2 separate regions of the Homo sapiens genome follow, and region 2 is linked to region 1. Evidence: promoter capture Hi-C in 16 types of primary human blood cells and fetal thymus (Javierre and others, 2016). All regions are on one chromosome and are shown on one strand. Each heading gives the region's core, a stretch centred on a gene start or on the middle of the fragment in contact. The rest is flanking DNA. Distances are from core to core; before and after follow the strand shown. Region 1 holds the start of GLG1 (golgi glycoprotein 1). Region 2 holds the start of ZNF821 (zinc finger protein 821).

Region 1 (6,188 bases), core at 825-3,324:
CTGGCCAGGTTCCCAGATTTATCTGTTTCTTGCTTCTTGGTGACTGAGATTTCAAGATAGCCATGTGTACTCCTCCCTATCTCTGGAGGCAATCTGTGGCTGTGGTTTCCTCAGTTCAGGCTGAAAGATAAGTAACTGATGGCTTATCTAGGATTGTCAATTTCTAGTTAAACTGGCTTAAAATAATCTCCCACTTGTCTGAACACATGCAGACTCAGCATTGAAAATTAATGGAGGCCAGGCGCAGTACCTCACGCCTGTAATCCTAGCACTTTGGGAGGCTGAGGTGGGCAGATCGCCTGAGGTTTGGGGTTCGAGACCAGCCTGGCCAACATGGCAAAACCCCGTCGCTACTAAAAATACAAAAATTAGCTGGGTGTGGTGGCACATGCCTGTAATCCCAGCCACTCGGAGGCTGAGGCAGGAGAACTGCTTGAACCCAGGAGGTGGAGGTGGCAGCTCCGAGCAGAGATCACGCCACTGCACTCCAGCCTGGGCAACAGAGTGAGATTCCGTCTCAAAAAAAAAAAAAAAAAATTAACATACGCTAGTGACATCTCAAGGACTTCTGGTGATGTGTCCAGCCTGCCTGACTGAAACTTACCTATGCCATGTGTTTGCTAATAAACATGGGGCTGCCTTAGTCAGTGCTCAAGGTTAGCAGCAGCCTCATGATCATTTTATGACAGTAGCAAAGGTGACCGTTGGTGGAGATGCCAACAAGCTCTCATTCCCCATGATAGAGGCCTGGGGTCAGCCACAGTGGGTAATTTGTACTCACAGAATATCTTCAGTCTCAGGAGCTCCTTTTGGGTTCCCTGAGCTCCTGACTTTTCAGGTTCTAGTTATGTCTAACTTGGTCTTGACTGCTCATTTGCGGGTCAGGACAGCAGAAGCTGTCTGTTTACTACAGTAGATGTAATTCGCATTTTTGGACACAATGACCAGTGGAGATTACACAACCCAAACTGCCCTCATTCCCCAACATGTGCATGGACAGAGTGGGATGAAAGTGCGCCAGGGTGGTGGGAAGCCCCAGGGATTCTGGTGGCTAGCCTAGCTGTCTACAGGATGGCAGAGTTCCTCTTGGGCAGCTCATTTAATCCCTCCACGCAGAACTGTTAACATCTCTGTGCCATTCTTCAGTTAAATGAGAACCTAACGCAGGCCTGATGCATGGCTCAGATTACACAGCGGATGTGAAGAGGCTTTGGGAACATATCCTCTCTCCTAAGGACAGGGAGGGGATGCTAGTGTGGGGTGCCTGCGGTGTTGCATGCAGGTCAATGAGAACAGTTACCGACACACAGACTTAACCCGAGTCCTCAAAGATGTGTTTTATTATTATTTTTTCATCCTTTAAACATGAATCTAAATGCTGGCTTAAAATCAGGATTCATGCATAAACGGCTTCCCAGTTTATTAACAATACTGGCTGTGACTTTTTGAGTTCAGTGTTGTGGGCCAGGCACTTAAATTATTATTTCGAATCTTGCCAATGGTACTTTACATTTGAGCTCTTGCGTACCCTGCCAGAGCAAGGATTATAACCTTAATTTTTTTTCTTACCCCAGAACTTATGCTCTTAACCCTATTCAATGCTGTCTCTCTCTTTGGCTAAGAAAGACTTCTGAGGCAGATGGAAGGAAGGAAGGAAGGAGGGAGCGATACAAGGAGAGGCTTTCCGATTCCGTAATACACCTGGTTGTGCAAAGTTCACCTCTACATATAAAGTTTTTGTTTTCCAAGTCATTGAACCGGCGACATATTCTACCGGCCATTTTGGTTGTGGCAACCCCAATTCCCTTGATTTTTTTTTTTGTGACAGCAAATGGAATTAGAGTAGGCCGCCCTGCCCGGGCTTTTTAAGAAACCCCAGCAACCCCCCCGGGTAAGGAGCGCCGCTCTCCCGCCCGCCGGTCCAGGGTGTGTGCGGTTTCCAGCACGGCCTCCTCCTTCGCCCCACTCTGGGTTCGCGGGTCGGCGCCGGCGGGGCGGGGCTCGGCAGGGCCACGCTGCCACGCCCAGCGTCTCCACCCCCTCATTTAAATACGCGGCGCCGGCGAGTGCGTCGAGCTCGCCGCGGACTCAAGATGGCGGCGTGTGGACGTGTACGGAGGATGTTCCGCTTGTCGGCGGCGCTGCATCTGCTGCTGCTATTCGCGGCCGGGGCCGAGAAACTCCCCGGCCAGGGCGTCCACAGCCAGGGCCAGGGTCCCGGGGCCAACTTTGTGTCCTTCGTAGGGCAGGCCGGAGGCGGCGGCCCGGCGGGTCAGCAGCTGCCCCAGCTGCCTCAGTCATCGCAGCTTCAGCAGCAACAGCAGCAGCAGCAACAGCAACAGCAGCCTCAGCCGCCGCAGCCGCCTTTCCCGGCGGGTGGGCCTCCGGCCCGGCGGGGAGGAGCGGGGGCTGGTGGGGGCTGGAAGCTGGCGGAGGAAGAGTCCTGCAGGGAGGACGTGACCCGCGTGTGCCCTAAGCACACCTGGAGCAACAACCTGGCGGTGCTCGAGTGCCTGCAGGATGTGAGGGAGGTGAGGAGGTGGGACGAAGCCGGGAGGGCCAGGCCTGGTGCGGGCCCGAGGGTGTTGCCGGCCTTGGAAGCCGCTGACGCCGGTCGGCTGCTTTCCTTGCTTCCTCTGTGCTGCACTCGCTCCTTCCCTCTTTGCTCCTCACTCCCAGGCGCTTTCAGGGAAAAGGATACCACTCCCACTCCTTCTTTCCCCCGCCCTTATTTCCCTCCCTGTTGCCGGGGTCTGGGACGAAAACCTGGGCTCCTGGCCGCAATCCGCCGAGGCCCAGAGCGTGTCTGTTCGCTCCTGTCTTTTGTGTGATGCTCTATGCAGAGTGTCTCCTCGCCGAAGATCAGTTTAGGATTTTGCCATCAGTTTCGACTAGGACAATTTGTGGCAAGCCATTTAAACATAAAAAAATGCCTGGCGTACTTAGGCTGTAAAGAATGATCTGTTTATTAGCAGTAGATGTAATTCGCAAATCCATATTTTTGGTGCTGAAATTAATGTATGCTTTGTTTTCTTCACTTCCTTTGGTCAGTTGTATTGAACCCCATGTTTAAGCTGTTAACTCCCAGTGACTTGGCGCCCCAAAGCTTGAAAAGTTGGGGAAGCGTTTGAAGCTGTGTTTGTGACTGGGTTATGGGATCTTGCCTTTCTGAGGTCTGAATGTGATTTTAACAGTATCTCTTAATGAAATCTACATTTGTCGTTGCTTGGTGTGATTCAGTTGAGTGACATTGATAATTTATAATCAAGTGACATTGATAATTTATAATCTAGGTTTAATGCTGCAGACCATAATGACAATTCTCAAAGTTTGGGAGCAAATCTGACAGTAGTAACTTTTTCCAGAGGTGTAGGTATATAAAATTAGCCCTAAAGGTGGACAAATAGAATGAAGCTACCACTTGATACTGTTTTTGGTTTTTTTTTTAAATATCAGATTTGTTTAAGGCGTTCAAGCTATAGCAAGACCACTTGCTTGTAGAAATTTGCTTCTCTTGGCATTTCCCCCCTTCATCTCGTGTTCTAGTATTCTATACAAAAGCAATTCAGATAGAGGAAAAGACATACATAAGCAGGAGACAGAAAGAAAGGAAGTTTCCAGAGCCCCTAGAAATGTGAGGCCTTACCTGACTTCTCATCTTCAGCTTAACGACTAGAGGGATAGTCCTCTGGTAGATACAGCTAATATTCCTAACTCTGTCGAACTTTTTGGAATTTTCTTTTCGCTCTTTGAGGACACATAATAGATGTCGTTTCATCAAACTAGGATCCTAATACTGGTGACCAAACAATTAGTAGTAGTTTGTGGTAGAAACAGCACATTATTAGGGAAAGTGGCAAAAAGTGGCCTATTCAAGGAGTGTATATATCCTTCATGTGTATTCCGGACATTTGGAAACCTCCACTTAAAGGAGGCAGTTTTATGCTCCAGAGGAGGAAAGGCGTCATATAAATTGGAAATGGGGGTTTTGGGGGGTTGGGGGGAGGTGGAGGGACCAAATTTCCAATTTAATGTTTTTTCCTCCAGTTTTTACATACAGAAATAATGAAGGAAGAGTACTGTGAACACCTATGTGTATTCTTCAGGAGGTGGAGTTATTTTTAAACTTCTTTTCTTTTTTTTGAGATGGAGTCTCACTCTGTCGCCAGGCTGGAGTGCAGTGGCTTGAACTTGGCTCACTGCAACCTCCACCTCCCGGCTTTAAGCAATTCTGCCTCAGCCACCTGAGTACCTGGGACTACAGGCGAGCGCCACCACGCCCAGCTAATTTTTGTATTTTTAGTAGAGACAGGGTTTCACCATGTTGGCCAGGATGGTCTCGATCTCCTGACCTTGTGATCTGCCAGCCTCGGGCTCCCAAAGTGCTGAGATTAGTGGTGTGAGCCACCACCCCCACCCTATTTTCTTTTTCTTTAAAGACAGCGAAAGGAAATTTCATTCTGCTTAGTCTGGGAGTTAATTAAATCTGATCTATGTGTTTGAAAGAGCATAACTTAAAGAAGTAAACTAGTTAGGCACATTTGAAGAAACATGTATAGAATATGTTTTGTATTTGCTGTTCAGTAAGTAGAACTATTTGATAGTGAAATAGATATATGTACTTTTCTGTCCCTTTGCATGCAAATGCAGGGAACATTTTCCTATCCGTACCCATTATTGGAATTATGAAAAGGCAGAGCATATGAGTACAGTTGTTCCTTGGTATCACTGGAGGATGGTTCCAGGCCTCCTGCAGATATTGAAATCCAAGGACGCTCAAGTACCTTATACCGTATAAAATGGTGTCGTATTTCCATATCATCTGTGCACACCCTTCCGAATTCTTGTCTTCTCTAAAATACTTGTGATACCTAGTACAGTGCCTACATATCAGTTCATTCATGTGGATTCACTGTAGTACTTGGCATATGTCAAACTTAACTTTTGCTTTTTGGAACCTTATGGAACTTTTCTTTCTGAAAAAAAATTTTTTATTATGGAGACAGGGTCTCGCTCTGTCATCCAGGCTGGAGTGCAGTGGTGCAGTCATAGCTCACTGCAGCCTCAGTCTTCTGGGTTTGAGAGTTCACTGAAGCCTCCACATTCCGGGTTCAAGTGATCTTCCCAGCTGGGCTTTCCAAAGTGCTGGGATTAGAGTTGTGAGCCACTGTGCCTGGCCTTGGGATTCTTTTTTTTTTTTTTTAACGCTCTCGGATGAGTCATGCTTTTAAAAAGGCCAAGTATATCATGGGTCCACTATGAAATAATAGATGTAATAGCCAGTAATGGTGTGTTAGTAGTCCTAGTTGTGTGTGTATAATTATTAGTAGTTCAAGTTATTTAAATAAAAACAAAAAATTAGAAAGTGTAAGGCAGAAAAGAAAAAATATTCCCTGGGCTGTTCTAGTAGGTGGAGTAATAATACCAAAGAAAGAGAAGATACTGTTGCTTAGTATGTGATAAGGAAGGCATGCTTGATGTTGTCAGTCATTTTAAAATACTTTACTTATTCTTGGTTGAAATGGCCAGTAGCACTTTTTTTTTTTCCACTAGTGTCTTGTATTTCGAAGTTTCAGATGGAGACCTTGGTTCCTTAGAAGTTTGTGGTGTTCAGCCGGGCGCAGTGGCTCACACTTGAAATCCTAGCCCTTTGGGAGGCTGAGGCAGGAGGATTGCTTGAGCTAGGAGTTCAGTACCAGCCTGGCAACATAGTGAGACACCGTCTCTAATAAAAAGTTTGTGATGTTCATAGATTAGATTTTCTTTTTTTTTTTTTTTTGAGACGGAGTCTTATTCTGTTGCCAGGCTGGAGTGCAGTGGTGTGATCTCGGCTCACTGCAACCTCTGACTCCCTGGTTCAAGCAGTTCTTCTGCCTCAGCGTCCCAAGTAGCTGGGATTACAGGCACGCACCACCTCGCCCAGCTAATTTTTGTATTTTTAGTAGAGACAGAGTTTCACCATGTTGGCCAGGATAGTCTTGATCTCCTGACCTCATGATCTGCCCACCTTGGTCTCCCAAAGTGCTGGGATTACAGTCATGAGCTATTGCGCCTGGCTGCTGCTGCTGCTGCTGCTGTTGTTGTTGTTGTTGTTGTTTGAGACGAAGTCTTGCCCTGTTGCTCAGGCTGGAGTGCAGTGGCACAATCTTGGCTCACTGCAACCTCTGCCTTCTGGGTTCAAGTGATTC
Region 2 (6,188 bases), core at 1,690-4,189, 2.7 Mb after region 1:
CCAAAAAGTAGGCCCAAGCCAAATATCGTTCCACTAATGAATGGATAAATAAAATGTGGCATATCCATACAACAGAATATAATTCAGCCATAAAAAGGAATTAAGTACTGATATATGCTACAACATGAATGAACCTTGAAAACCTATTAAGTGACAAAAGCCAGATTAAGTGACAAAAGCCAGACACGAGAGGTCCCATACTGTATAATCAATCACATTTATATGAAATGTCCAGAATAGGCAAATCCACACAGACAGAAAGTAGATTTGTGGGTGCCAGGAGCTGGAGGAAGGGAGAATGGTGAGTTACTGCTACTGGGTATGGGATTTCTTTTTGGGGTGATGAAAATATTCCGGAATTAGATACTAGTGATGTTGTCAACCCTGTGAATGTACCAAAACCCACTGAATTGTACACTTTAAAAGCATGAGTTTCATGGTATGTGAATTATACCTTAATTTAAAAAAATGTAACATGAGGTTCTTAAAATCCTCCTACCTTTATTGTTGGAATATAGAGCCCTAACAAGGTCATTGTAGAAGCCAACAAATATAAAATGGATTAGGAAGATATTTCAAGTGGAAAGTTAAATAGTTGAAGTGGCAAAATGATGACATAACTGTGAGTAGATTGGGAAAGTAGAAAAAAGTGAAGCTAAAAAAATATATATGGTTAATTAAAAGGTCTTCTAGATGTAGAACAAGTTTAGGTGAAAGCAGAGGAAAAATAAATTAATTCTTCTTTTTTAAAGAGACAAGGGTTTCACTATGTGGCCCAAGCTGGCCTCAAACACTTGGGCTCAAGTCATCATACCATCTCAGCCTCCTGAGTAGCTGGGACTATAGGTGCCAGCCACCATGCCTAACTTAAACTAATTACGTATTTAATAATTTTTTCATTATTTGGTTGTAACCTTGAATCACAACACCTCTGAGAAATTTTTAGAGCACAGGGAAGTCATAAGAATAGCATTATTATCATCTCATTTTATTTGGAAGTCAAGGAGATGGAATAAGCTGCCCAACATTACATAATAATAATGCATCCAAGAAATTTCACTGGAGGCAAACTTTACCTGTTTGCTACTTTTCTGTTGAAAATGTCAACTAAGTCAGCTTTAAAGTGACATAATAAAGCCATACTTGTATCCCTCAGTCCAAACTGATCAAGAATTACTGTTAAATATAAAAGCCAGTGTGTATTCTAGGTTGTATTCTTACACAAAATAGTACAAACACTTGCGGGTTGGATGATAATATTCCATTTTCTGTCTACTTGGAAACTAAGTTTTTAAATGAAATTAAAATGTTTCCTTGACTGAAGTTAAACAACAATAATTGCTATCTAAGTATCCTAATCACAATAAATAAATGAGTGAATGATGAATGAGCTATTTATCACAGAATTGTGAAGGACCAAGATCCCTCAATGTAATCATTCTATTACATTGAACACAAGATGCAGACAATGAGATCATCTCATAAAAGATTTAGGGGAAAGACAATTTGCAAGAATGTTCTATGCAAATACCAGGACTTGTCACTTTATCAGCAAATGACAGCATCCTCGTTAGCCCTGCCTTTGTGCAGCCAGTAATCACGAAAAACATTTGCATGATGCTTTTAGCCATTTGTTTTACTTAACTGGCACAACAACCCTCGGAGAGTAAAGGCCAGGAATTATTGCATCATTATCCATTTGACATCTTAGGAAGCAGAGGCTCAGAACAGGGAAGTGACTTGCCCAAAGTCAACAGGCTGGTGGGTGGCAGAGCTGGGGCTCAAAGCCAGATCTTCTAATACCAGATCTCATCTTCTTTCCTCTGCATTCCCTGCTTCTCCAGGTAAGCGATGCCAGGGCAGGCTCAGGCATTCTAGAAGAGAGGAAGAAAAGAAGGCAACAGGAACTAGGAGAGAGAAGGACGTGGACAGGAGGAGGTGTTTGACTAGAAGTGCGTCCAACCAGGCCGGGCACAGTGGCTTACGCCTGTAATCCCAGCACTTTGAGAGGCCGAGGCGGGAGGATCACCTGAGGTCAGGAGTTCGGGACCAGCCTGGCCAACATGGTGAAACCCCGTCTACTAAAAATACAAAAATTAGCTGGGCGTGGTGGTGCACGCCTGTAGTCCCAGCTACTCGGGAGGCTGAAGCACGAGAATCGCTTGAACCTGGGAGGCGCAGGTTGCAGTGAGCGAAGATCGCGCCATTGCATTGCAGCCTGGGTGACAGAGCGAGACTCTGTCTCAAAAAAAAAAAAAAAAAAAAGGTCCAACGGCTCTCCATTGCCCCCAAACATCCCTCAAGTGACAACAGTGCCACAAGTTCCCCTGCCCCTGGGTCTGCAGCCAATGTTATTTTATCAGTTGAGAATCATGTCAGAAAATTAAATACTCAAAAGAAATCTCAAGATTTCCCAGCTCTGAGGTTCTGACAGCTGAACTTGGCCCCTCCCACCAAGGCCCGTGGTCACATTCAAAGCCTCGGGAGCCGAAGCCACCGCGAAGCGTGGGGGAATGAGGCGAAGAGGGTTTGTGACGGTGGTGGGGATCCGGGCTAAGGAGAGGGGGTGCCTGCGGCGGAGCTGTGGTTGGGGGTTGTGGGTTTTGTGGCTGAACTCGATGGTGGGGTAAGAAACCAGGATCGGGGCTGGGTAGGGTGGCGTTTACACGTCCAGGAAGGTCTGGGGGAGCTGAGCGGCTGAGACAGCCAGAGAAAGACCCGGGAATGGGCGAGGCGGGGGGTTCCGGAGCCCTGGAACGCGGGCGAGCCCCTCTCGGGCGCCCGGGATTGGGCGCTCCCCGGAGCCCCTCCTCTCCAGAGCCCCTCTCCTCAGGCCCCGCCCACAACGCCAGGCGCGCGCCGGGCCGCGGGGAAGGGGACCTGGCCGGCGCGGGGGAGGGGGAGAGGGAGGCTCGTGCACGCGCCTCACTAGCTGCGGGTGCGCGAGCCGCGCGCTCCCGCCGCCCGCGTCGCCATCTTTTTCCCCCTCCGTCTGTCTGTCTGCTGTTGGCTTTGTCCGTCTGCAGCGCCGCCCCTCGGCTCCCCGCCACCGGCTCGGCTCGGCCCGGAGCCCCTTCCGCTCGCCGGGGCCCAGTCCCGGAGCGCCCCGGCCCGGCTGGCTTGGGCTGCGGTCCCGGGTCCATTGTCCGGCGGTCCGTCTGTCCGGAGGCGGGGCCCAGGGACCCAGAGCGCAGCGCAGCGCCGAGGCGCCGGGTAAAAAGACCCCCTGCCCTCCCTCCGGGTCCGGGCTGGGGATGCGGGCTCCTCGCCCCCTCGCGGCCGCCGGCTGTTGGTCCTTTTGTCTGCACTGGGGAGAGGGCCGGGGGCCAGCTCCGGCCTAGGGGGGCAGCCCGGGCTCACCCTCCCCGCTTCCAACCCCAATTCCTCCCCGGCCGCTCCTCCTGCTGCCCCTTGGCGCTCTCGGGCGCGGGGCGCGGGGTGCGGGGCCGGGGGGCTTTTGCGCGGGCCGCGGGCACCCCGCCTCCTCGGGCCCCGGCGGGGACGGCCCCGGCGTCTGACAGCCTTGGGTGGAGCTGGGGGAGGGGAGGATGGGCGTGGGCGTGCAGACCGGGGGGTATCAGTCCCCGCGTCTGGGTCTCGCAGAAAAGCTTCTAAATTTAGATTTCGGAGATTGTGTTGTCTAAGGGTTTGTCTGAGCCGCCTCGGAAGACCTCCGGCTCTTGTCAGGCTCTTGTCTGGTAATTCCTGGGAATTTACCTGGGCTCATGCTTGAAGAAGCAGAGGGACCATCTCGGCTGATTAGACACGCCCCAGACCCAACCCCAGGGGTCAGGTGAACAGCCAGGCGGCTAAGTGACCAGCTTTCTTGTCCTCTCCTTTTTGGCAGATACAGATCACTTGGATTCAGTCGAGTTTGCTTTGCTCCGTGGGAACTGCACCAGAGCTGGAGGTGGGAACGCACTCTCTTTTCATCAAGCTGAGATTTCACTCGTTTTTTTTCTTGCCAAAGTCTGTGGTGTGCCCTAGACGCTGCAACCTAATACCTGTGGGAGAGCAGAGACAGTGTTCAGGGGAGACGTTGCACCTTCCCGAGGACTCTTAACCTTGCTCTGAAGACAGACAGAACTGCTTTCCTTTTAAAATGGAATCCCTTTAGACCTGAATCTCACCGTTTACCTGTCTTCCCAGCCCATGTTCAGGCAGCTATCTATTTACATTTTTGGTTTGGTTTGGTTTCAGGTTTTGGCTTGGAAATTGAGGCAGTGTTAAAAGTAAAACAAAATGAGTGACCTTTAGGGCTGTATGTCTCTGGGTTTTATTAGCTTTAACTGCCTATAAAACAAGTCATCTGGCCTCTGAGATCTTGCTTTGTGGTCAAGAGTGTCCTTTCAGCGCCATTTATTTATTTACTTATTGATTTTCAACAGCCCATGACCCCACAGGCCTGTTTTTGTGGGTGTTTTTGTTATTATTTTCGTTTCGTTGTGTGGGAGGGGACTGTAATTGCTTATTTTTCTCTTGATCACTCAGGTGTGAAGTCCCATTGGGTACCATCTGGTCAGTTCCCCATTTGGCCACTAGGAGGATTATAAGATGCAGCGGGCATTGCTGATTTAAATACGCAGACACTCATCTCTGTCTTTTGACTTGGAGCTTTAATATTGAAATGTTGTCTGGTTCAAATTATTTGGCCTTCCTTCAGAAGGGACTTTATTACCTTTATCTTACAGTTTCAGTTTCTGATCTTGAAGGGAGAAAATATAAAAATTAGTCAAGATTCTGTTTTTTCTTCTATAATAGAGTATATATATATTTAGCCTCAATAGATTATCACATTAGAGGAGTATATTTTATTTTTTTAAATTTTTATTTATCTTTTTTTTTTTTTTTTGAGACGGAGTCTCGTTCTGTCGCCCAGGCTGGAGTGCAGTGGTGCGTTCTTGGCTCACTGCAACCTCCGCCTCCCGGGTTCAAGCAATTCCCTGCCTCAACCTCCTGAGTAGCTGAGATTACAGACATGCATCACCACGCCCAGCTAGTTTTTGTATTTTTAGTACAGACGGGGTTTCACCATGTTGGCCAGGCTGTTCTCAAACTCCCGACCTCAGGTGATCCACCCGCCTCAGCCTCCCAAAGTGCTGGGATTACAGGCGAGAGCCACCGCCCATGGCAGTTTTTTATCTTTTTTTGAGATGGAGTCTCACTCTGTTGCCCAAGCTGCAGTGTAGTGCCTCCATCCCAGCTCACTGCAACCTCCCCTCCCCAGGTTCAAGCGATTCTCATGCCTCAGCTTCCCGAGTAGCTGGAATTTACAGGTGTGCACCACCATGCCCAGCTAATTTTTGTATTTTTATTAGAGGTTTCCCCATATTGGCCAGGCTGGTCTCAAACTCCTGGCCTCAAGTGATCTGCCTGCCTTGGCCTCCCAAAGTGTTGGGATTACAGGCGTGAGCCACGGTGCCTGGCCATATTTTTAAAAATATTAATAGAGCCTGCATTTCATTACCTTTCCACTTGGTGATTCCACACACATATAGGAAATCCAAAGTGTGATATTCATTCACTGCTTCCGTGAATAAAACAACTACTTGATTAGAAAAAAATGACATACACAAAACTTAGAGAACATACACTATCAGCACTCAGTATATTGCCCTCTAAATAGTTTAAATTGATTTTTATTGTATACATTTAGAGTTTTGTTTTGTTTTGTTTTTAATTAAAGGTCTGAAAAAGAACTGTGTTTGATATGCAGATATGCTAGAAGACTGCCTGAAAGCTGCTTCCTTTGCCACTTCCTGTGGAGGCCTGTCTTTGCCATTTGCGGTTTCTTTATTCTTTTGGTAAGGGGAGGCAGGATCTGATTATAGGTTTGAGGTCCTTCTAGCTACATAGAGGAGTTAGTTGGCATAACAGGAGGTGAGTCTTCATTAACTGGAGTACAAAATATAGCTAGCAGTAGTCTCCCATAACTCCTCTTAAGGCAATAAACTATGATTTTATGTTTGCTTATTCAATGTGAGTATAACTCAAGAAGGCAGGAACTGAAAGAAAACTTAAGAGTGTGACCAGATCCATATTCCTGTCTTTGGTAGGAAAGACAATCCCTTTTTATTCTATGTCTTTATTCACTCTTTCTAAGAAAATGACACAGCTATCAATACTAATCCATCTCAGATTCTCTAACAATGCTTAAGGCTGGGGCACTCTTTCTGTAGTTAATCAGG

What was found. Contacts are between HindIII fragments. The CHiCAGO score rates a contact against its expected background, and 5 or more counts as called.
Region 2: the fragment with the promoter of ZNF821 here is called in contact with the fragment with the promoter of GLG1 in region 1 in 1 of 17 cell types (M0 macrophages); the score reaches 5.0 in M0 macrophages.

Annotation. Positions count from the first base shown.
Region 1 is chr16:74,603,000-74,609,187 of GRCh38, reverse strand. GLG1 (golgi glycoprotein 1) reads left to right here and starts at 2,074. Exons shown (of 26, transcript NM_001145667.2): 1 at 2,074-2,531. The coding sequence starts at 2,094. RefSeq lists silencers at 1,904-2,093, 2,324-2,503. The HindIII fragment of the contact is 13,128 bases long and covers 1-3,108 here.
Region 2 is chr16:71,880,933-71,887,120 of GRCh38, reverse strand. It overlaps ZNF821 (zinc finger protein 821), which reads left to right and starts at 2,939. Exons shown (of 8, transcript NM_001201552.2): 1 at 2,939-3,213; 2 at 3,848-3,910. RefSeq lists enhancers at 1,573-2,073, 3,914-4,113 and silencers at 2,654-3,413, 3,434-3,553. The HindIII fragment of the contact is 5,845 bases long and covers 1-3,610 here.